Regions from separate parts of the Homo sapiens genome. Here regions 2, 3, 4, 5, 6 and 7 are each linked to region 1. The links are contacts of gene promoters, found by promoter capture Hi-C in blood cells and fetal thymus (Javierre and others, 2016). All regions are on one chromosome and are shown on one strand. Each heading gives the region's core, a stretch centred on a gene start or on the middle of the fragment in contact. The rest is flanking DNA. Distances are from core to core; before and after follow the strand shown.

The links. The method cuts DNA at HindIII sites, captures the fragments that hold promoters and counts their contacts. A CHiCAGO score of 5 or more calls a contact.
Region 2: a contact is called between a fragment that was not itself captured here and the fragment with the promoter of SMARCC2 in region 1, in 6 of 17 cell types (naive CD4 T cells, total CD8 T cells, fetal thymus and 3 more). The highest score is 7.4, in naive CD4 T cells.
Region 3: a fragment that was not itself captured here is called in contact with the fragment with the promoter of SMARCC2 in region 1 in 5 of 17 cell types (erythroblasts, activated CD4 T cells, total B cells and 2 more); the score reaches 6.8 in erythroblasts.
Region 4: a contact is called between a fragment that was not itself captured here and the fragment with the promoter of SMARCC2 in region 1, in 5 of 17 cell types (total CD4 T cells, naive CD8 T cells, non-activated CD4 T cells and 2 more). The highest score is 8.1, in total CD4 T cells.
Region 5: a contact is called between the fragment with the promoter of DNAJC14 here and the fragment with the promoter of SMARCC2 in region 1, in 1 of 17 cell types (naive B cells). The highest score is 5.3, in naive B cells.
Region 6: a contact is called between a fragment that was not itself captured here and the fragment with the promoter of SMARCC2 in region 1, in 5 of 17 cell types (naive CD4 T cells, total CD8 T cells, total B cells and 2 more). The highest score is 6.2, in naive CD4 T cells.
Region 7: a fragment that was not itself captured here is called in contact with the fragment with the promoter of SMARCC2 in region 1 in 12 of 17 cell types (naive B cells, total CD8 T cells, naive CD8 T cells and 9 more); the score reaches 13.9 in naive B cells.

What each region holds. Positions count from the first base shown.
Region 1 is chr12:56,187,944-56,190,836 of GRCh38, reverse strand. It overlaps SMARCC2 (SWI/SNF related BAF chromatin remodeling complex subunit C2), which reads left to right and starts at 1,354. Exons shown (of 29, transcript NM_001330288.2): 1 at 1,354-1,486. The coding sequence starts at 1,376. TRS-CGA4-1 (tRNA-Ser (anticodon CGA) 4-1) reads right to left here and starts at 473; the gene lies at 392-473. LOC107984468 (a long non-coding RNA gene) reads right to left here and starts at 145. Exons shown (of 2, transcript XR_007063330.1): 1 at 1-145. RefSeq lists an enhancer at 708-807 and silencers at 1,048-1,327, 1,398-1,617. The HindIII fragment of the contact is 5,408 bases long and covers 1-2,893 here.
Region 2 is chr12:56,591,947-56,594,839 of GRCh38, reverse strand. It overlaps RBMS2 (RNA binding motif single stranded interacting protein 2), which reads right to left. Exons shown (of 14, transcript NM_002898.4): 14 at 1-2,893. Among named protein-coding and RNA genes, the nearest start is that of BAZ2A, 37 kb to the left of the region's middle. The HindIII fragment of the contact is 7,914 bases long and covers 1-2,893 here.
Region 3 is chr12:56,570,661-56,573,553 of GRCh38, reverse strand. It overlaps RBMS2 (RNA binding motif single stranded interacting protein 2), which reads right to left. Exons shown (of 14, transcript NM_002898.4): 5 at 1,699-1,856. Among named protein-coding and RNA genes, the nearest start is that of RBMS2, 50 kb to the right of the region's middle. The HindIII fragment of the contact is 3,027 bases long and covers 9-2,893 here.
Region 4 is chr12:55,798,965-55,801,857 of GRCh38, reverse strand. SARNP (SAP domain containing ribonucleoprotein) reads left to right here. Exons shown (of 11, transcript NM_033082.4): 3 at 958-1,004; 4 at 1,229-1,296. Among named protein-coding and RNA genes, the nearest start is that of SARNP, 17 kb to the left of the region's middle. The HindIII fragment of the contact is 8,110 bases long and covers 1-2,893 here.
Region 5 is chr12:55,828,155-55,831,047 of GRCh38, reverse strand. It overlaps DNAJC14 (DnaJ heat shock protein family (Hsp40) member C14), which reads left to right and starts at 1,461. Exons shown (of 7, transcript NM_032364.6): 1 at 1,461-1,559; 2 at 2,334-2,893. The coding sequence starts at 2,390. It also overlaps the pseudogene TMEM198B. RefSeq lists enhancers at 1-193, 148-885 and a silencer at 1,414-1,523. The HindIII fragment of the contact is 16,581 bases long and covers 1-2,893 here.
Region 6 is chr12:56,518,034-56,520,926 of GRCh38, reverse strand. It overlaps a transcript of RBMS2 not described here. Among named protein-coding and RNA genes, the nearest start is that of RBMS2, 2.3 kb to the left of the region's middle. The HindIII fragment of the contact is 4,136 bases long and covers 1-2,893 here.
Region 7 is chr12:56,499,851-56,502,743 of GRCh38, reverse strand. No RefSeq gene overlaps it. Among named protein-coding and RNA genes, the nearest start is that of SNORA105C, 12 kb to the left of the region's middle. The HindIII fragment of the contact is 1,533 bases long and covers 626-2,158 here.

The DNA of each region.
Region 1 (2,893 bases), core at 105-2,604:
TGGCGGCTTCCCTTTTGGAGAGAGAAAGTGCACGAAAGAAACGTGTGAGAACTGGGGTTACCTTTATGTGCTGTGAAAGGGGTTAAAAAAGTCGACGCCTGTAATCCCAGCATTTTGGGAGGCCGAGGCGGGCAGATAACCTGAGGTCAGGAGTTTGAGACCAGCCTGGCCAATATGGTGAACCTGTCTCTACTAAAAATACAAAAATTAGCCAGGTATGGTGACGCATGCCTGTGGTCCCAGCTACTCGGGAAGCTAAGGCAGGAGAATTGCTTGAACCCGGGAAGCGGAGGTTGCGGTGAGCCGAGATCGCGCCACTGCACTCCAGCCTGAGCAACAGAGCGAGACTCCCTTTTAATAATAAGAAGAAGAAAGAAAAAAAAAAAAAACCCGTCACGAACAGGATTCGAACCTGTGCGGGGAAACCCCATTGGATTTCGAGTCCAACGCCTTAACCACTCGGCCACCGTGACTTCCAAAACCGCGCTTTATCGCGCGCTTACAGAAGGGGTCCGCACTGCAATCCGGGAATGCGTGCGGGAACCGGAAGCAGGGTACCGGCCCCGACACACACACACCTGAGGACTCCCCACCCCTCGGTTCCTTACCTCCTATCTACGCCACCCAAAGAAAAAGAGTCGGATGGACTGGGTGACCCAGGGAGGGAGGGTCTCCTGCCTAGCGAAGAGTCGGGGTCTCGAGTAGGAGCTCACACCTACTTAGGAGGCGACAGCGAGGCCTGCGGAGGAAGCAGTTGAGGGAAGGCACTGGGCCGCCAGGGTGGCGACTAGGGGACATTTGGGTTAACAAGTGAGGGGAGTGCTGGGTGGACAAGGCGCGAGGAGTGAGGGAGACTCTGAAAAGTTTAAATGGGGAGCTGCTGTGAATGGATGGAAGGAAGGAACTTCTTGGGGAAAGGGGTTTGGGGTTTTGGGGGACGAGGGGCTTCGTCGGGTTAGGAATGCGCAAGGTGAGGACCACTCGGGTCTACGGGTTGGGGCTGCTCCAGCGACTGGCGGCCGCCTGGAGTGGGATAGCGAGGTGACACTCCCGAGCTGAGGCAAAAAGAGGGAAAGGGCTTCGCGTCTGGTAAGAGCGATCTCAGGAGAATGGCGCCCCCTCCAGGAAGCGTCCTTCTCCCCGGAGGCTCCCGCCTCCGCTGCCGGGGAGGCCGCCAGGGTCGGCCCGCGCCTGGAGCTCCGCCGCCGCGCCCGGCCTGCCGGCAGGGGGCGCAGCGCGGACCGGGGCCGGCCCAGGCGGCGGGAGGCGGCGGCCGCGGCGGCGGGAGGCGGCGGGAGGCGGGCGGAGGAGGAGGCGGAGGAGGCGGGAGCTGAGCTGAGTGGGGCGGGCGGCGGCGGGGCCCGAGCCGGAGAAGATGGCGGTGCGGAAGAAGGACGGCGGCCCCAACGTGAAGTACTACGAGGCCGCGGACACCGTGACCCAGTTCGACAACGTGCGGCTGTGGCTCGGCAAGAACTACAAGAAGGTACGCGGGCCGGGCCGGGCCGCGCGGGGACCGGGGGCGGGACAAAGGGACCGCGGCCCTGCAGCCCCGGGATCCTGCCTACCCTCCAGGCGCCCCAGCCCCTCCCCCGCGGCCTCCCAAGCAGCCCCCCGCGCGCCCTCCTGCGCTCCCGCGCCCCTCCCCCAGCCTCCCTCTCCCCGCACCCCCAGCCTCTGAGCCCAGCCCCCGCCCCCACTGCTGCGCCCTCTGCCCCTTGTTTTTCTCTACTGCCCGGCGGGCCCCGGTGCCATTAGCCCACCTTCCCCTCAGCCATCGCCCTCCTGGCTTTTCTGGGAGAGGCGGCCGGCCGGGTGTGGACCGGGTGCCCAATGGGCTCCCCCGCAACCCGGAGCGTGCCCGCCAGAGCTCCCCACGGAGCCAGGTACCAGCGGGGCTGAGGCCTCTCCGGTGCTTTGTGTATGTTCAGAGAGAGAGAATGGAAAGCAGGAGGGTAAACAGTCACAGAGCAAGCCGTTGGCTGCTCATCAGCCTGAAAAAGGTCTCCACCCAGGGATCACCTGTCTCCGCCGCTCATCCCCCACCTTCATCTAAGGGGCAACAGAATCTCTCAGGGAGCCGGGGTATAGGAGTTCCTGGGTAGCGGCCCCTTCCGAAACCTTTCCTCGATTTTACAATGAAGTCACCTTGCAACCTAGCTTTGCAGTACCCTGGGTTTGGGGTCGAGAGGTTAGGGTGAGCTTCCTATCTCTAGCCCCTCACACCCAAACCCCATAACTGGAGATCATAAGGTGGTGAACAAAAGGTTCAAGAATCCTTACCTGTCTTTTCTACCAAACCTCTTCCTGGTGTCGTCTTTGTCTCTAGGCCTGGTTTTCTCTGGAAATGGTCTGCCTCTCTTTTTCTCACTACCCTCAGAGAGGGATTCTCTTTATGGCTTTCTTTCAGCTCCCCAGTTCTTCCTGCCGGCTTTGCAGCTCGTCAGAAGTGTGCTTAGTGGCTTAGGAGAACTTCCTACTGATGCTGGTTGTGAGCCTGGCCCTGCCCTTGGGGTCTCTCTGGGTGTGAGAATCCTGACAAATAGCTGCTATTTCTATGGCATGTCTCTACGCCTGTGAGAGGCTCTTATTCCCAGGCTTCTACCTTTGACCTTTTGCAGGGAGATCAGGCTAGGGGCTTAGCCTCCGGCCTTGGGGGAATTGACAGTTGTGACCTGGTTCAGCTTCCATGCTCTTAGCTCTTTGTCATTTACCTTTCCCTTCACAGATCTATCTCTTTTCACCTCTCACTGAGAGGCACTGTCTTCTTTGTGATGAGTGGGGAGAAAACGGGTCAAAAAGTAAAAAGAAAGTCTCCTGGCTCAGGTTCAAATTAGAATGGAAGGCTAGGATGCTACTAGGTAGCAGAGTGTGGAAACATAGAAGTAGGGCC
Region 2 (2,893 bases), core at 225-2,724, 400 kb before region 1:
GTGAGGTTGTGAGGTAGACGTGTAACAAGGACAAGGAAGTTTGGGGATCTGCTTGGAGAATGAAGGTTTATTCAAAACAAGTGGACAGGTCAGGGGTAACGGGTGATGAGGGCACCTGGCTTTTGTAATCATGTGGGGACTGTCCCCTGGGAGGTGCAGCAAAAATCAGAACGGAGACAGAAGCTCACAGTCTGGTTTTAGCTGCCAACTCCTATGGAAGTCCATAGCTGACTCCTATGGAAGGCCTACCAAATGAGGAAATTTCAGGAATTTGCTAATGCGTGGGAGGATTGAAAATGTAGGCAGCACAGAAATAGAGTAGTTGGTTTAAACGGGAATCAGGAAGGATTGGTATAACAAGGCACAAGATTTGGAATTTACCCTTTACAGACTGGCTTTTATAACACCCACCCTCGTCTCTGAAGCCTGCTGATTCAGGGCTAGCAGAGCCTAGGGGCAAGTTTGGGCCAGATCACCCACCCAGTTTATTGCCCTTGGCTAAGAATGCAAAGCCCCTCATGAGCGCAATGCTGCCACTTGCCCAGAAGGTGGGGCATGTGCACAAGGCAGCAGCAATAGTTCTTTTCTAGAAGACTAATAGCCACTGCTACTAGGGATTCCTAGGACATTCCAGCAAGGCCTCTCACAGCATCATATGACGCAAAGTAACAGCCCACGGGTTGACATTGGAGTGACAGGCCTCAACTCCCAATGGGTTGACATTGGAGTGACAGGAGTAGGCACTGGAGGCACTAAGGGAGGGTGAGTGAGCTGATTGTCAAGTTAGGAAAGGAAAACGAATGGAGTGGAGCTGAAGTGGCCCAACCCAGCGCATGGCCTGTGAAGCAGCAAAGTCTGGTCTTCATCTTCAATATGAGTAATGTCCTCTTACCACTCCTTATCTGTTACTGACAAGGTCTATTACCCTTTAGAGCCACCAGGCTTCCTGGCCTGGGCAACTCTACAAATTCTTTAGTTAAAAACACTACAAAGGGCCGGGTGCAGTGGCTCACGCCTGTAATCCCAGCACTTTGGGAGGCCAAGGCAGGTGGATCATTTGAGCCCAGGAGTTCAACACCAGCCTGGGCAATGTGGCAAAACCCTGTCTCTACTAAAAATACAAAAATTAGCCAGGCATGGTGGCAGGCACCTGTAATCCCAGCTACTCAGGAGGCTGAGGCAGGAGAACTGCTTGAACCCAGGAGATGGAGGTTTCAGTGAGCCAAGATCACGCCACTGCACTCCAGCCTGGGCGACAGAGCGAGACTCCGTCTCAAAGAAAAAATAAAAATAAAAAAACTGAAAAGGCCAGGTGTGGTGGCTCATGCCTATAATCCCAGCACTTTGGGAGGCCGAGGTGGGTGGATCATTTGAGCCCAGGAGTTCGAGACGAGGCTGGGCAACATGGCGAAAACCTGTCTCTATTAAAAATACAAAAATTAGCTGTTTGGAGGTCAGGAGTTGGACACTAGCCTGGCCAACGTGGTAAAACCCCATCTCTACTAAAAATAAAAAAATTAGCCAGGCATGGTGGCACAAGCCCATAGTCCCAGCTACTTGGTGGCCGGGGAAGGGGTGGCTGAGGCAAGAGGATCACCTGAGCCTTGGGAGGTCGAGGCTGCAGTGAGCCATTATGGTGCCACTGCACTCCAGCCTGGGCCACAGAGTGAGACCCTGTCTCAAAAAAACAAAACAACAAAACCAAAAAACCAAAAACATTAAAAACAACATCTCATCCAAGCATGGAGGCTCACACCTGTAATCATAGCACTTTGGGAGGCTGAGGTGGGAGGCTCACTTGACAGGAGTTCAAGACCAGTCTGGGCAACATAGTAAGACCCCTGTCTCTACAAAAACTTAAAATAACGAACTGGGCTTGGTAGTATGTGCCTGTACTTCCAGCTACTTGGGAGGCTTAGGTGGGAAGAACCCTTGGGCCCAGGAATTCAAGACTGTAGTAGACTACGACTGCATCACTGCACTCCAGCCTGGGTGACACAGCAAGACCATCTCTAAAAAATAAAATAAAGGCCGGGCGCGGTGGCTCACGCCTGTAATCCCAGCACTTTGGGAGGCTAAGGCGGGCAGATCACCTGAGGTCAGGAGTTCGAGACCAGCCTGGCCAACATGGTGAAACCCCATCTCTACTAAAAATAAAAAAATTAGCCGGGCATGGTGGTGGGTGCCTGTAATCCCAGCTACATGGGAGGCTGAGGCAGGAGAATTGCTTGAACCTGGGAGGCGGAGGTTGCAGTGAGCCGAGATCGTGCCATTGCACTCCAGCCTGGGCGACAGAGCAAGACTCTGTCTGAAAAAATAAAATAAAATAAAAACATCTCTCTCCATCATCATCTCCACATCTTCCTGACCTCTCTACTGGCACCCTCCTCCAAAAAGTCCAATCAGTTTAGGGTCTGAGTATCATCTCAGAGCCTGAGATGAGGAGTAATAACACCGATAGGAGATGGCTAGGCAGGCTCAGAGCCTATAAAGGATTATGCCATCTGAGGAAAGGACTCTAGTGTGTTCTAGCTGACTGAAAACAGAAAAATGCCAAGTACTAAAATATTTTAAGAATGTTATGAGCATCTGTAATGAGTGGGGGTGAGATGTAAAGTACAAAGAGAGTAAGAGCTGGGCTCCATGAAGACAGCATTCAGAAAACACTAGGCATAGTGTTTAAGAGCCCAACCCTTGGCTGTGAGCTGGAAGGCTCCCCTATGTTTCCTTCTGCCATCAACCCAACCAATTAGACTATTTCATGGGAGAAACAGTATCCCTCCTTTCTTCTCCCTCCTTTCCTCCAAACACTCACCCACTGTTACAAATGAACTAACAATTAGGAGAGGAAATGAGTGTAAACCAAATGCACCAAAAAAGAAATTCCTCAGTG
Region 3 (2,893 bases), core at 273-2,772, 380 kb before region 1:
ACTAAGCTTGAGTCAGCTGGGGAAGAGGAACTATTTCTTTTCTTCTTCTTCTTTTTTTTTTTTTTTTTTTTTTTTTTGAGATGGCGTCTCGCTTTGCTGCCCAGGCTGGAATGCAATGGCGCGATCTCGGCTTACTGCAACCTCCGCCTCCCGGGTTCAAGTGATTCTCCTGCCTCAGCCTCCCGAGTAGCTGGGACTACAGGAGCCCGCCACCATACCCAGCTAATTTTTGTATTTTTAGTAGAGACGGGGTTTCACCAGGTTGGCCAGGCTGGTCTCAAACTCCTGACCTCAGGTGATCCACCCGCCTCAGCCTCCCAAAGTGCTGGGATTACAGGCGTGAGCCACCACGCCCAGCCAAGAGAAACTATTTCTTGTTCCCAAGGTCTGAAACACTCAGAGTAAGGGGGTGTTCACGGACCAGACAAGATATAAAGCAAAAAGGGGTGCTTGGCTCACTTAGTCCAGTCATTTTGAAACTAAAAAAAAAAAAAAAAGTCAAAAGAATCTCCTTTCAAATAAAATCTTAAAATAAATAAAAGCAGAGCCATTTCTTAAGTGGGCTAAGGGAGGCTGATACCCTACGACAGTGAGGGCAGATACCAAAGCCCAAAGAAGGGCACCTGGGAAAACTGCAGGTATAGGGAATACTGTGGGAAAATTACTCATCTGAATCAATCTCCACTTCAGAGAGTGAACCAAGGCTCACAAGCTCTGATATCACAGGTGCAGAATTGTTCTGGAATACAGGTCTCCCAACAGATCTGAAAAGGAAGATCAAAACTTCTACCTCATCCTACTGCTCTCAAAGCCAGAAGGATCAGGGCTCTGCTCTAACACCCACTCCTGTAAGACCCTGGGCAAATCATTTCTACTGAAGAGTTCACTTTCCTCATCTGTAAGATAGAGAATATTTATCTCACAGGGATGTTGTAAAGATTAAATGAGACAAGATGAGAAATACTCAGTAAACTATAAGAATATACAGAATTTTTTACTCTGGTTGGGTCTGGATTAAAGGAACAAAGCCTAGAGTACTTCCCTAGGAAGTAGTAGGGAGCTTAGCCGAGTGTGGTGGCTCATGCCTGTAATCCCAACTGCTTAGGTGGCTGAGGCAGGAGGATCACTTGAGCCCAGATGTTCAAGAGCAGCCTGGGCAACACAGCAAGACCCCATCTTTATAAAAAAAATATTTAGGTGGGGCTAATGGGTTTTTGAGTATTGTAACCTATAATAAAATGAACCTTTTTTTTTTTTTTTTTTTTGAGACAGAGTCTCACTCTGTTCCCCAGGCTGCAGTGCAGTGGTGCGATCTCAGCTCACTGCAACCTCTGCCTCCCAGGTTCAAGCAATTCTCCTGCCTCAGCCTCCTGAGTAGCTGGGATTACAGGCATGCGCCACCACGTCTGGCTAATTTTTGTATTTTTAGTAGAGACGGGGTTTCACCATGTTTGCCAGGCTGGTCTCAAACTCCTGACCTCAGGTGATATGCCTGCCTTGGCCTCCTAAAGTGCTGGGATTACAGGTGTAAGCCACCGCACCTGGCCTAAAATGAACTTTTGACTTACCATCAAGTATTTTTGAATAATAGTAAAGTATTTTGACCTTGTGTGGGAAAGGCATAGATTTTGTTTTCTGGTGACCCCCAAGTGACATTTGTTATTAACCTCATCATTTCCCCACTCCTGCCATCCTCACCTTGCAAAGCCAACACCTCTGCTGGTCCCACTGGTATCTCGAAGGATACGGGTGGAGATAACCTGGCCAAAGGGCTTCAGCATCCCCTCCAGTTCCTGCTCATCCATTGACAGTGGGAGGTTTGAGATGTATAAATTTGTGGGGTCCTGTTCCTGTTGCTGTGGAAATAACAGTGAGAAAATGAGGCTCACATCTCTTATCCCTCTCCCACCCTCAGCCCTCCCCACAAATGACATTTCAGAAAAGAGACTATAGGAAGGGTCCCACATAAACAAAGATTATTCTATTTGTTAACACCCAGTCCCACTACCACGGGTTGTATATTGAGTTCCAGGAGGGAGAAGTGCAGATTTAATATTTCTAGTACTATACAAGCCCATCATACAAGTCATAAATGGTGTTTGGCTGTCTCTTTTAGAAACAGGCAGAGCAGCATTCCCGCTCTCCCCCAGCAGCCGGTCCCAGAGGCTGGATTCCCTCAGACTGCCTTGCTCCTTGGCTGGCTTGTTTTGAGCAGCCCCTCCCCACTTCTCTTCCAGCCACGCAGAATCCTCTAAGTAGGAATGCCTGTTCACTCCCTGATGGAGGAAGAGCAGGAGGAGGGGAGAAGGGAACAGGGAGAGAGCCAGATGCAGAGTTCACTGTGTCACCACGGAGCCCTGAAAGCTACAGTCTCCTAGGACCCTGAAGGCTCCTAAACCTTTGAGCTTTTGTCAGAGGGTTTTACTCCTGGAAGAAGAGGTAGGAGAGCCCTTCCAGGGGACAGAATGTGCAAAATGGCAATATCATCCAATAGTTGTATTTTTAAGAATTTAAGCAGTCACTCTGCCCTAAACAGTGGTCACCAGCAACCTTAATCCTCTTCTGCCTTTTCCTTTTGTTTTCCTTTTCTTTAACCATTACAGAAAAGGTGTCTAGCAGGCCTGCCTCACAAGCTCTATGTATAATACTCATAACAGCTTCAGAAAGGCAAAGGGACAGCCAGGCGTGGTGGCTCATGCCTGTAATCCCAGCACTTTGGAAGGCTGAGGTGGGCGGATCACAACGTCAGGAGATCGAGACCATCCTGGCTAACACGGTGAAACCCTGTCTCTACTAAAAATACAAAAAATTAGCTGGAGGTGATGGCGGGTGCCTGTAGTCCCAGCTACTTGGGAGGCTGAGGCAGGAGAATGGCGTGAAGCCGGGAGGTGCA
Region 4 (2,893 bases), core at 273-2,772, 390 kb after region 1:
TCTCTTGAGGCCCGGAGTTTGAGACCAGTCTGGGCAGCATAGTGAGATCCCATCTCTAAGAAAAATAATAAAATTAGCTGGGTGTGGTGATGTGCACCTGTAGTCCTACCTACTTGGGAGGCTAAGGCAGGAGGATCCCTTGAGCCCAGGAGGGGGAGGCTGCAGGGAGCTGTGATTGTGCCATTGCACTTTATCTGGGCGACAGAGTAAGACTCTGTCTCAACAAAAACAAATGTCTTGTCATTTGTCTTTTAAGTTTCTTTGTGCTATCCTTAAGTAGAAGTACTTAGTTTTGAAAAATCTTCAATTTTTCACCTCTTACTTTTGGTTCTGGGTTGTTTTTCTTTTAAACAAATCTTTCCCCACCACTAAATCTCAAAGATACTTTTCCACATACTTTTTTTGTTTGTTATTCAAGACTGGGTCTTGCTCTGTCACCCAGGCTGGAGTGCAGTGACATGATCTCAGCTCACTGCAGCCTCTGCCTTCTGGGTTCAAGTAATGTTCCCACTTCAGCCTCCCCAGTAGCTAAGACTATAGGCGCACACCCCCACACCCAGCTAATTTTTTTATGTTTTTTGTAAAGACGGGGTTTCGCTGTGTTCCCCAAGCTGGTCGCTTGAACTCCTAGGTTCAAACGATCCACCTGCCTCTGCCTCCCAGATTGCTGGGATTACAGAGAGCCACGGTGCCTGGCCCAACATTACTTTTAAAATTAATTCTCTAGTTTGACTTCACATTTAGTTCTTCAGTCCAACTGGAGTTCACATTTGTAATTAATGTTAGGTAGAAATCTGGTTTTATCTTCTCCAGATGTAGCAGATTTTATGTGCATCAGTTTCTGCCTTCACTGTTGGATTTTTTGGGGGAAAGCAAAGTGATTATAATTTTAACCTTGGTAAGTGATCAAGATGGTTTTGTAGCAGGGCTTGACCTGAATATTTTAATATTCTTTAGCTGAAGAGGAGGCAAATGAAGAAGATGTACTGGGAGATGAAACAGAGGTGAGTTGGATAGAGTAAGGTTAGTCTCTGGTAATGTGCCACTGCTTTGGCCACATTGCTTTAACATCAGTCATTGGAGGACTTAGATGTAAATTTATTAGGGGAGCATAAGATGGGTATGAAGGTTCTGAGAGACTGGTTTATTTTGGAGTTCTGATGTTCTTCTTTTGATAGATATTTATTCTTTAGATTTATGTTAACCACCTTGTTTCATTTGGTTTTAGGAAGAAGAAACAAAGCCCATTGAGCTCCCTGTCAAAGAGGAAGAACCCCCTGAAAAAACTGTTGATGTGTAATTATCCCTTTTTTATAATCTGAGTACAGAGCAGGCAGCTCTTTTCTTAATGTATTTAATGTTTAACTTTGTTTACCTCTTACATGTTCCCATTGGCCTTTTCCTTTCTGATTAGGTCATTTTTTTGTTTTTTAGAAGGGACTACTTCAAAGTACTTGGTCCCAGTGAAGTAAAGCAAATTGTCTCTGAGTTATGTAATAGGTAATGAGGACCAGGTGACTTCAAGACCAGACATAGTTTAATTCTCCTAGCCTTTGTTGTTCTTTTGTAGGGTCACCATAATAGATTATTCTGTTACTCTATAGAGAATCTGTACAATTCTGTATGCAGTGTAAAACTGTGTAAACTCTGTTAACTTTTTTTTTTTTGAGACAGGATCTCACTCTGTTGCCCAGACTGGAGTGCAGTGGCGTGATCTTGGCTCACCGTAACTTCTGCTTCCCAGGCTCAAGCAATTCTCCTGCCTCAGCCTCCCGAGTAGCTGGGATTATAGGTGTGTGCCACTACTGCCCGACTGATTTTTGTATTTTTAGTAGAGACAGGGTTTTACCATGTTGGCCAGGCTGGTTTTGAACTCCTGACCTCAAATGATCCGTCTGCCTTGGCGTCCCAAAGTGCTGGGATTACAGGTGTGAGCCACCGTGCCCGGCCCATTCTGTTAACTGTTCATAAGAGTTTTGCACTTTTCTGGAAAAGTGTAAAACTGAGGCCAGGCACGGTGGCACACACTTGTAATCCCAGCACTTTGGGAGGCCGAGGTGGGTGGATTACGAGGTCAGGAGTTCAAGACCAGCCTGGCCAAGATGGTGAAACCCTGTCTCTTCTAAAAATACAAAAATTAGTTGGGCGTGGTGGAGGGCACCTGTAATTCCAGCTACTTGGGAGGCTGAGGCAGGAGAATTGCTTGAACCTGGGAGGTGGAGGTTGCAGTGAGCCGAGACTGTGGCACTGCACTCCAGCCTGGGAGCCACAGCTGTCTCGGGAAAAAAAAAAAAAAAAGTGTGACACTCTATATAAAGGAGTTTTGTAAGGGAGGAGGGTGTTGGGTAGAGGTTATGTTTCTGAAGTAGCACTCTGTTCTCTCTTGCTTTCTGATTTACAGTGGAGGATGGGAGGACAAAGTGCTAGAATGGAAAGTAGATCTTGATTTGTTTAAACTGTTCCACAAGGGTGATCCTAAACATCTTTAATTTGGGGCTTTTTCCACAAATGTCTGGCCATTTTGTACTATAGTACATTAAGAGCCGTTGAGTCCTAAACTTTGAACATTTTTGTTCCTCATAGTTGTGTTAGTGCATTTAATTATAAAAGGCAGTGTATTTACAAGTAAAAAGTCAGTACATAGTGGAGTATATCAATTAAGAATTAAGTACTCTTTGTATCCATTCTCAGATCTGACTTTACTGAGGTTTTTAGAACAGTACATACTTTTGGAAGATTTTATATATGGGGTCTGTACATGTGTATATGTATGTATGTGTATATATAGATACACGTATACACACACTGTGCACACTTGATTTTTTTTCACATCTGGAAATTTTTTATATCATCATTTTCTTATGTAAGTGTTAGTTATATGCTAGGCATTGTT
Region 5 (2,893 bases), core at 212-2,711, 360 kb after region 1:
TGCTTCCCTAGACCTCCAGATGCATCCCTGCTCGGAGGTCCTAGACGCCGGGGGTGCGGCTGTCGGTCAAGAGCACCCCCAGGGTCACTCTGTTGCTGCCTAAACTCTTTCAAGTCGCAGCCCAGGCTCTGTGAGCTAAATGCAACTAGCTTGCAGGGTGGAGAAAGGGGACAGGGCGTGTGTGTTGGGGTGTGTGTTTGTGTTTGTGTGTGTGCGCGCGCGCGTGCGCGCGGTGGGGGGAGGAGGGGTGACATCACAAGGCAGGCCCCTCCAATTCTTTCCCGTGTGTGTGGGGGGACCCAGGTTGCCTACTGCTCTAGTCCAGGACCAGAGACCCCCAACTATATAGCAGGTAAGAGTCTTGAGGGTCACCCCAAGAGTTTTGGAGAAGGGTCTCCGAATACTTAGGAGATGACAACCGGAAGCTCTCAAAGCCCCAATAGGGGTCCCAGCGCCCCCCTAGCTTCAGCTTGGTTTCTTCCACTTTCCAGAGAATTGGAGTATTGTCTCCTGGAGAACCGGGTGGTCGGGATCGTGGACCAGGGAAGGGGCTTTTGCTGGTCGGGGAGCGCCAACTGGGGGTTCATGGGTGGAAAAACTTTCGGATCAAGACGGGGTATAAGGCTAGAGGCGTGTGCAGAGGAGGGGACCGACGGAACGGGGACCCAACTGGGTCTACGTGGGGGCGGGGGCGCTTGTGGACGTCCACCAAATAGCTTGGTATGCAGATGAGATGTCAAGCAGCAGGTAGATGAGTTCAGTGTTCTTTGGCTCACGGGCAAAGTTCTGAGCCGAGCCAAGTTACGCTCCCAGTTCCTAGGCACCGCTCGGTGATCGGGCCTGGGGAGCTGCGACCCGAGGGGCGGATCCAGGTATAAGGGGCAGCTCGCCAGCTGGGTCAAGCGCGGGGGAGGCCGTGGGTTGCTGTGAAAGGAGGGGCAGTGCTGCGGGGCGAGGGAGGGGGCCAGCCGGGGCACCCTCTCCTCTGCTCCACCTCCGCACCGCAGGATACAAAGGGGCCTGTGTCCTCGCAGCTGCCGGCACGGAAGGGATCAGGGCAGTGACTCTTCTGAGCTCCCTGGTTTTGTCTGCAAGGGAAAAAGACTATATGTGGCTCGGTGGCTGCCCTCCATCTCCCAGGAATACAAAGCCTAGGAATACACCCAGAGCAATCCTGAGAGTCTGCCCTTAGTCTGCAGGCATTGGTGCAGAGTCCACCTGCCTTGCTTCCTGCGGTGCAACCTGCGGGAATCCCATTCCCACACGCGGAGGGAGGGGCCTTTAAATGGCGGGGCCAGTACTTCCTTAGGACCGCCTCCTTGGAGTCGACGCAGCCCTAGCTGGATTGGCTTGCCTCTCAGCCAACCGCTATTTCTTTTCCTTCCCGTCTCTTCCCTGGTGACCCCGGAAGTGGAAGTAGGCCCAGGTCGCCGGCGGCCGCGGGGACGGAAGGCGGAAGCAGAGCGTGAGCGGGAGGCGGAGCCGGGAGAGCGGCTCTCGTAGCTCACCCTGGCCCCAGGCCGGGCGGCTCGAGGGGGAGGAGTTACCGCCGTTCTTCGGTACGTCCGTCTTTTTTTTTTTTTTCGTTTTTTTTTGTTTTTTTGAGATGGAGTCTCGCTCTGTCACCCAGACTGGAGTACAGTGGCACGATCTCGGTTCACTGCAACCTCCACCTCCCGGGTTCAAGCGATTCTTCTGCCTCAGCCTCCCGAGTAGCTGGGACTACAGGTGCGCGCCACCACGCCTGGCGAATTTCTGTATTTTTAGTAGAGACGGAGTTTCACCATGTTGGCCAGGCTGGTCTCGAACTCCTGACCTCGTGATCCGCCGGCCTCGGCCTCCCAAAGTGCTGGGATTACAGGCGTGAGCCACGGTGCCCGGCCACCTTCGTCCCTTCTACACAGCCGGTGGGTTCCCTGTTAGTCTTTCTTAGGGGCAGCCCTAAGCTCCGCCCCCAGATTTTCCTCCAGGGCCGCATGGCCCCCACCCATTACTGGAAGTCTGTGGCCCCCTTTCCGGCGGTCTTTCCCATTTTCCTAAGAGTGACCCACCCTCCCCCGACCACACCCTTTACGGTACCTCCCTGTTTCCCTGATTGAAGGTTATAGTTTTCTGGGGAAAGAAGAAAAACTTAAGTGATTTGGAGGAGAGGGGAGGGAGCAAGCAGGGTTGTGGTGAGTCTAGTTTTGGCTTATTGCTAGGAATAGCGAATGCCCCAAAAGAACTTGGGAAAACAAGGGAGGTGGATGAATTAAATGTGTCCACTATTTGAGATTGTTTAATTCCTCTCTTGGTCTCATCCTTGACTGTCTCCACCTTGATATCTGTTACAGGCATCAGAACACACCATGATGGCTGTGACCTAAGACCCTCAGGAAGCCCCGGGGTCATGGCCCAGAAGCACCCCGGAGAAAGAGGGTTGTATGGAGCCCACCACAGTGGTGGTGCCTCCCTCAGGACTTTAGGACCCTCCGTGGACCCTGAAATACCTTCATTCTCAGGACTCAGGGACTCAGCAGGGACTGCTCCTAATGGTACCCGCTGCCTCACAGAGCACTCTGGTCCTAAGCACACACAGCACCCAAACCCAGCCCATTGGTTGGACCCAAGCCATGGCCCCCCAGGGGGTCCAGGACCACCTAGAGATGCAGAGGACCCTGATCAGAGTGAGACGTCTTCAGAAGAAGAATCAGGAGTGGACCAGGAACTCTCAAAAGAAAACGAGACTGGGAACCAGAAGGATGGGAACTCTTTTCTTTCCATTCCATCTGCTTGCAACTGCCAGGGAACACCTGGAATTCCAGAAGGGCCTTACTCTGAGGGAGGAAATGGTTCTTCTAGCAACTTTTGCCACCACTGTACCTCTCCAGCTTTGGGGGAAGATGAGTTGGAA
Region 6 (2,893 bases), core at 179-2,678, 330 kb before region 1:
TGGTGCCTTGTTATTTCTCTAACAATTGCAGGCTATCTTATTTAACACTTTACCCTGCTATTTCCTCATCTTTAAGATCCATGAAACTGAAACAATTACAGTAACTCACCAAACCTGGAGTTTATGTCTAAATTGAAGTCTACAGTTGGGATGTCTGCTTTGAGTTGTCTTTGAGCTGTTTAAAAAAAAAAAATACTTAAGAAGCATATGCTTCAACAGAATAAAAACACAAAATTCTTAGGAAGGAATACAAATTTCAGAGTCAAGAACCTAATAGAGTTGCAACACTTACCTCTACTAGTTTCCAAAGAATGTCTTTGTAGGCGTAACCTTAACAAGAAAGGAAACCAAAAACTTAAGAATGATATCCAGTAACCCCTACCAATCCAAGTGCAATAGGGATGTTAAATGAAAGCCTTCAAATCCCTTCATAAGGCCACCTTGCTGCCATCCTAAGTAGTTTCTTGAGATATAAATTAACCCTGTCTGTTTTGTGACAACAAATATTAAGCCCAAACCCTCCCTCAAATGAAGTTCTGGTCTCTATTCTAGTTTCCGTGTCACTTTTTTGCTATGATAATGGAACAGACAGTATTAGTATTCTGCAGAGTAAATATACATACCCTACCCCCAATCTCTAACTTTCATTTCCAATAGGACAGGAAGTGCCTGCTCAGCTCAGGGGACACAGGAAGGGTGGGAGAGCCTCAGTGTGGGAATTGCAACTGAGACTGGAAACACAGCAGCCAAATGCAGTAAATAAATAAATGAAGGCATCACTCAGTGATATCTTTTTTTTTTTCTGAGACAGAGTCTTGCTCTGTTGCCCAGGCTAGAGTGCAGTGGTGCTATCTTGGCTCACCGCAACCTCTGCGTCCCGGGTTCAAGCGATTCTCCTGCCTCAGCCTCCCGAGTAGCTGAGACTATAGGCATGCGCCACCATGCCCGGCTAATTTTTTTGTATTTTTAGTAGTCTTGTTGGCCAGACTGGTCTCAAACTCCCGACCTCAGGTGATCTGCCCGCCTTGGCCTCCCAAAGTGCTGGGATTACAGGAGTGAGCCACCGCGCCCGGCCCATATATATATATATATATATTTTTTTAAGTCCTTTTTCTGCTCTCAGAGACTCTCATTAACCAATTTATCCTTGCTGTTTAGGCCCTTGGATGATATCTTCTCCTTTACCCTAACAATGTGGTACAGAAACCTTTCTCTTGAAGGCCTGATTCATAAAGGCAATCAACCCAATTTAACTTTTTTTTTAAGTCTAATTTTTCTTTCTACTTTTTTTTTTTCCCCCTGAGACAGAGTCTCACTCTGTCGCCAGGCTGGAGTGCAGTGGTGCAATCTTGGCTCACTGAAACCTCTGCCTCCCGGGTTCAAACGATTCTCCCGCCTTAGCCTCCTGAGTAGCTGGTACTACAGGCATGTGCCACGACGCCCAGCTAATTTTTGTATTTTTAGTGGAGACGGGGTTTCACCATGTTGGCCAGTCTGGTCTCGAACTCCTGACCTCAGGCAATCCACCCGCCTTGGCCTCCCAAAGTGCTGGGATTACAGGTGTGAACCACGGCACCCGACCGAAAAATCTAAATTTTTATAATCTGGTAAATTAGGACCACAGAAGTAAAATGACCCGGATATGCAAACTGATGCCAAAGGTGTATTATGTTAAAGAGCACCAACAAAACTGGAAACTAAATCCTTCATTCTGGTGAGTATATGTATTATAAACATATATTTTTTTTTATGACAGGGTCTCACTCTGTCACCTAGGCTGGAGTGCAGTAGCACAATCACGGCTCACAACAGGCAGCTTTGACTTCCCCAGGTTCAGGTGATCCTCACACCCATCCCACCCCTCCCCACCCTGTAGCTGGGACTACAGGCATGCACCACCACACCTGGCTAACTTTTGTAATTTTTTTTTTTTTGGTAGAGACGGGGTTTCATCATGTTGCCCAGGCTGGTCTTGAATTCCTCAGCTCAAGCAATTTGCCCACCTCAGTCTCCAAAACTGCTGGCATTACAGGTGAGTATATTTGTAAAGGAGTTATGGAATTCTGTGGAAATGATGGGGAAGGTAATGGTGTTCTGTGGTTAGATTCAGGAAGTATACGGGAGGAGGAAGAATCCTACTTCCTCCAGTGTATTTACTTTGACGCCCTTCTGCTTTGCCCATTACATTGCCCACATTTTTCCAGATTTAGTCAATGCCTCTCTAATTCTTGGTTCTCATGAACCCAGCACTCAGGAATTGTTTTGAAGGGAAAAAAGCAAAATGAGAGTTATCTGTAACTTCTTTGGGGAAGAGACATTTGTACCTGATTCAATATAGGCTTGTTTGTGATTTCTCCAGAAAAACAACTCTTTTAAACAAGTGTCCAAGGTGAAGGAGTAGGGGCTAGGTCAACCCCAAAATGTAGCTGAAAAATGTCCCAGCACTTTGGGAGGCTGAGGTGGGCAGATTGCTTCAGTCCAGGAGTTCAAGACCAATGTGGGCAACATGGCAAAACCCCATTTCTGCTAAAAATACAAAAAACTAGCCAGGCATGGTAGTGCATATCTGTAGTCCCAACTCCTCAGGAGGCTGAGTTGGGAGAGCCATCTGAGCCTGGGAGGTCGAGGCTGCAGTGAGCTGAGATGGCGCCACTGTACTCCAGCCCAGGCAACCAAAGTGAGATCCTGTCTCAAAATAAAAGAAAAAGAAAAATAAAGAAAAATGTTTGCATGCCTCTATTGGCCCCTCCATATCAGAGTGGAGAATTCAGAAGAATGTATTACCTGTAGATGTGCTGGACCCTAGCCAGACATTCCAATGGAGACAGGCTGGTGTGGTATATGTGGTTGAAAGCAATGAGACAGGTCAGTTTGCGTGTGAGGCTCTGATTGT
Region 7 (2,893 bases), core at 143-2,642, 310 kb before region 1:
GCAACAAGAGCGAAACTCCATCTCAAAAAAAAATAAATAAATAAAAATAAAAATACAATACTGAAATAGCATATTACACCTACTGGCATGGCAAGCACACAAAAAAAGTGATAACCGGCCAGCCACGGTGGCTCACGCCTGTAATCCCAGCACTTTGGGAGGCCGAGGCAGGCGGAGCACCTGAGGTCAGGAGTTCGAGACCAGCCTGGTCAACATGGCGAAACCCCATCTCTACTAAAAATACAAAAAAAAAGTTAGCCGGGTGTGGTGATACATACCTGTAATCTCAGCTACTTGGGAGGCTGAGGCAGGAGAATAACTTGAACCCGGGAAATAGAGGTTGCAGTGAGCTAAGATCGTGTCACTGCACTCCAGCCTGGGCAACAGAGAGAGACTCCATCTCAAAAAAAAAAAAAGTGATAACCAACTGAAGTGAGGGAGGAAAAACAGGCACTCTACTACATTGCTGGTAAAACTGAAAAATGGCATGACCAGTATGGACGGCAATTTGTCAACATCTTTAAAAATTACAAATATATATACTCTTTGACACATCAATTATACTTTTAGAAATTTATCCTACAGTTATATTTGCAAACTTGCAAAATGACAAGATATACAAGCTTATTTACTGCAGCACTGTCTGTAATAACTAAGGTAACCATAAAACATATATTACCCAAATTGGAATACTGTTGGAACAGAAAGAGGACAGTATTCATATACAAGCTGGGGCTGGGTGTGGTGGCTCAAGCCTGTGATTCCAGTACTTTGGGAAGCTGAGGTGGGTGGATCACTTGAGGTCAGGAGTTCGAGACCAGCCTGGTCAACATGGTGAAACTCTGTCCCCACTAAAAATACAAAAGTTAACCGGGTGTGGTGGCTCATGCCTATAGTCCCAGCTACTCAGGAGGCTGAGGCAGGAGAATTGCTTGAACTCAGGAGGTAGAGGTTGCAAGAAGACAAGATGGTGCCACTGCACTCCAGCCTGGGCAACAGAGCAAGACACCATCTCAAATTGTGGACAGCAAGCCACCCAGGCACCGAGGCAAGAGACAGAGGACACGAGCTGTTCCAGTATAATAGAATATAAAACAAGAATAGTTATACCAGATATAGATCTTAGATATGATTGTATATGAATATCATTAATCATTAGTTTGTAGCAATTTTTATTCCAATATTATGATAATCCTCGCTCTATAATCATAGCCTAGGAAAAACCACGCCATACAGAGATAGGAGCTGAGGGGACATAGTGAGGTGTGACCAGAAGACAAGAGTGCGAGCCTTCTGTTATGCCCGGACAGGGCCACCAGAGGGCTCCTTGGTCTAGCGGTGACGCCAGCGTCTGGGAAGACGCCCGTTATCAGGAGGATCGTGGTCCAGCGGTAGCAAAAGGTGTCAAGGAACAACACCCGCTACTTAGCAGACCGGGAAAGGGCGGGGCGGGGGGGGGGGTCTCCCTTTCCCCAGGGGAGTTTAGAGAAGACTCTGCTCCTCCACCTCTTGTGGAGGGCCTGACATCAGTCAGGCTTGCCCGAAGTTATCGGGAGGCCTAACCGTCTCCCTGTGATGCTGTGCTTCAGTAGTCGCACTCCTAGTCTGCCTTCATGTTCCATCCTGTACACCTGGCTCTGCCTTCCAGATAGCAGTAGTAAATTAGTGAAAATACTAATAGTCCCTGATATGCAGAAATAATGATGTAAGCTGTCTCTCTCTCTGTCTCCTCTCCCTCTCTGCCTCAGCTGCCAGGCAGGGAAGGGCCCCCTGTCCAGTGGACACGTGACCCACGTGACCTTACCTATCATTGGAGGTGACTCACATTCTTTACCCTGCCCCTTCTGCCTTGTATCCAATAAATAACAGCGCAGCCAGACATTCGGGGCCACTACCGGTGTCTGCGCATTGGTGGTAGTGGTCCCCCGGGCCCAGCTGCCTTTTCTCTTGTCTCTTTGTCTTGTGTCTTTATTTCTACACTCTCTCATCGCCGCACACAGGGAGAGACCTACCGACCCTGTGGGGCTGGTCCCTACATCTGGCGCTCCGACGTGGGGCTCTCCCTCGCTGTGTGAAGTTGCGCCCTGAGTGCGGGATCAGCGGAGGAGTTCAACGAGAGATTCCTGAGGATTGCAGTCAATAAACTTGGTGGTAAGCTTGAGCACTCAGAGTTTTCCGGGGACACCATGGGACAGGCCAGTACAAAGTATTCGGCTTATTTAAATTTTATAAAAACTCTTCTTAAAGAAGGAGGTGTTAAAGTTTCTACTGAAAAGTTAATTGAACTATTTGAGGTTGTAGATCTTCTTTGCCCTTGGTTTCCGACTCAGGGAACTCCAGAACTTAAAGATTGGGATGAGATTGGCAAACAATTCAAAATTGCTCATAAAGGGGGACATTTTATCCCACCCACCATTTGGTCAATCTGGGCTTCGGTTCGCTCTGTCTTAGACTCCTTATAGACTCAGGAGGACAATATGGAGACTGATCCCTCTTTCCTCTCCTCTGAGGAGGTCGAGGAAGCTCTCAGCTCTCTTTCCCCTGATGATACTGCACAAATTGAGAACGTAATTTCAAAGGAGGACTTCCACTCTGACATGCCTGCGCCACCGCCACCTACGCCAGAGGCCACTGCACCCCCATTGCCGCTTTATGATGATCTTTTAACTGACCTAAATGTACTTATCTCCCCAATCAGCAAAACTCAGCTGAAACATATCAACAGCCATTGCGGCCAGACCCTCCTGTCTCTCCTCACTCTTTCAACACTGCCGCCGTGCAAATAGCAGATGAGACCAGGCAGCCTGTAAACGAGTCTATAAATTACGTTTCTATGCAGCCCGGTACAGAGGCTCCGCTATATGAACAGCTTGGAAAAGAGGCTTCCAATTCT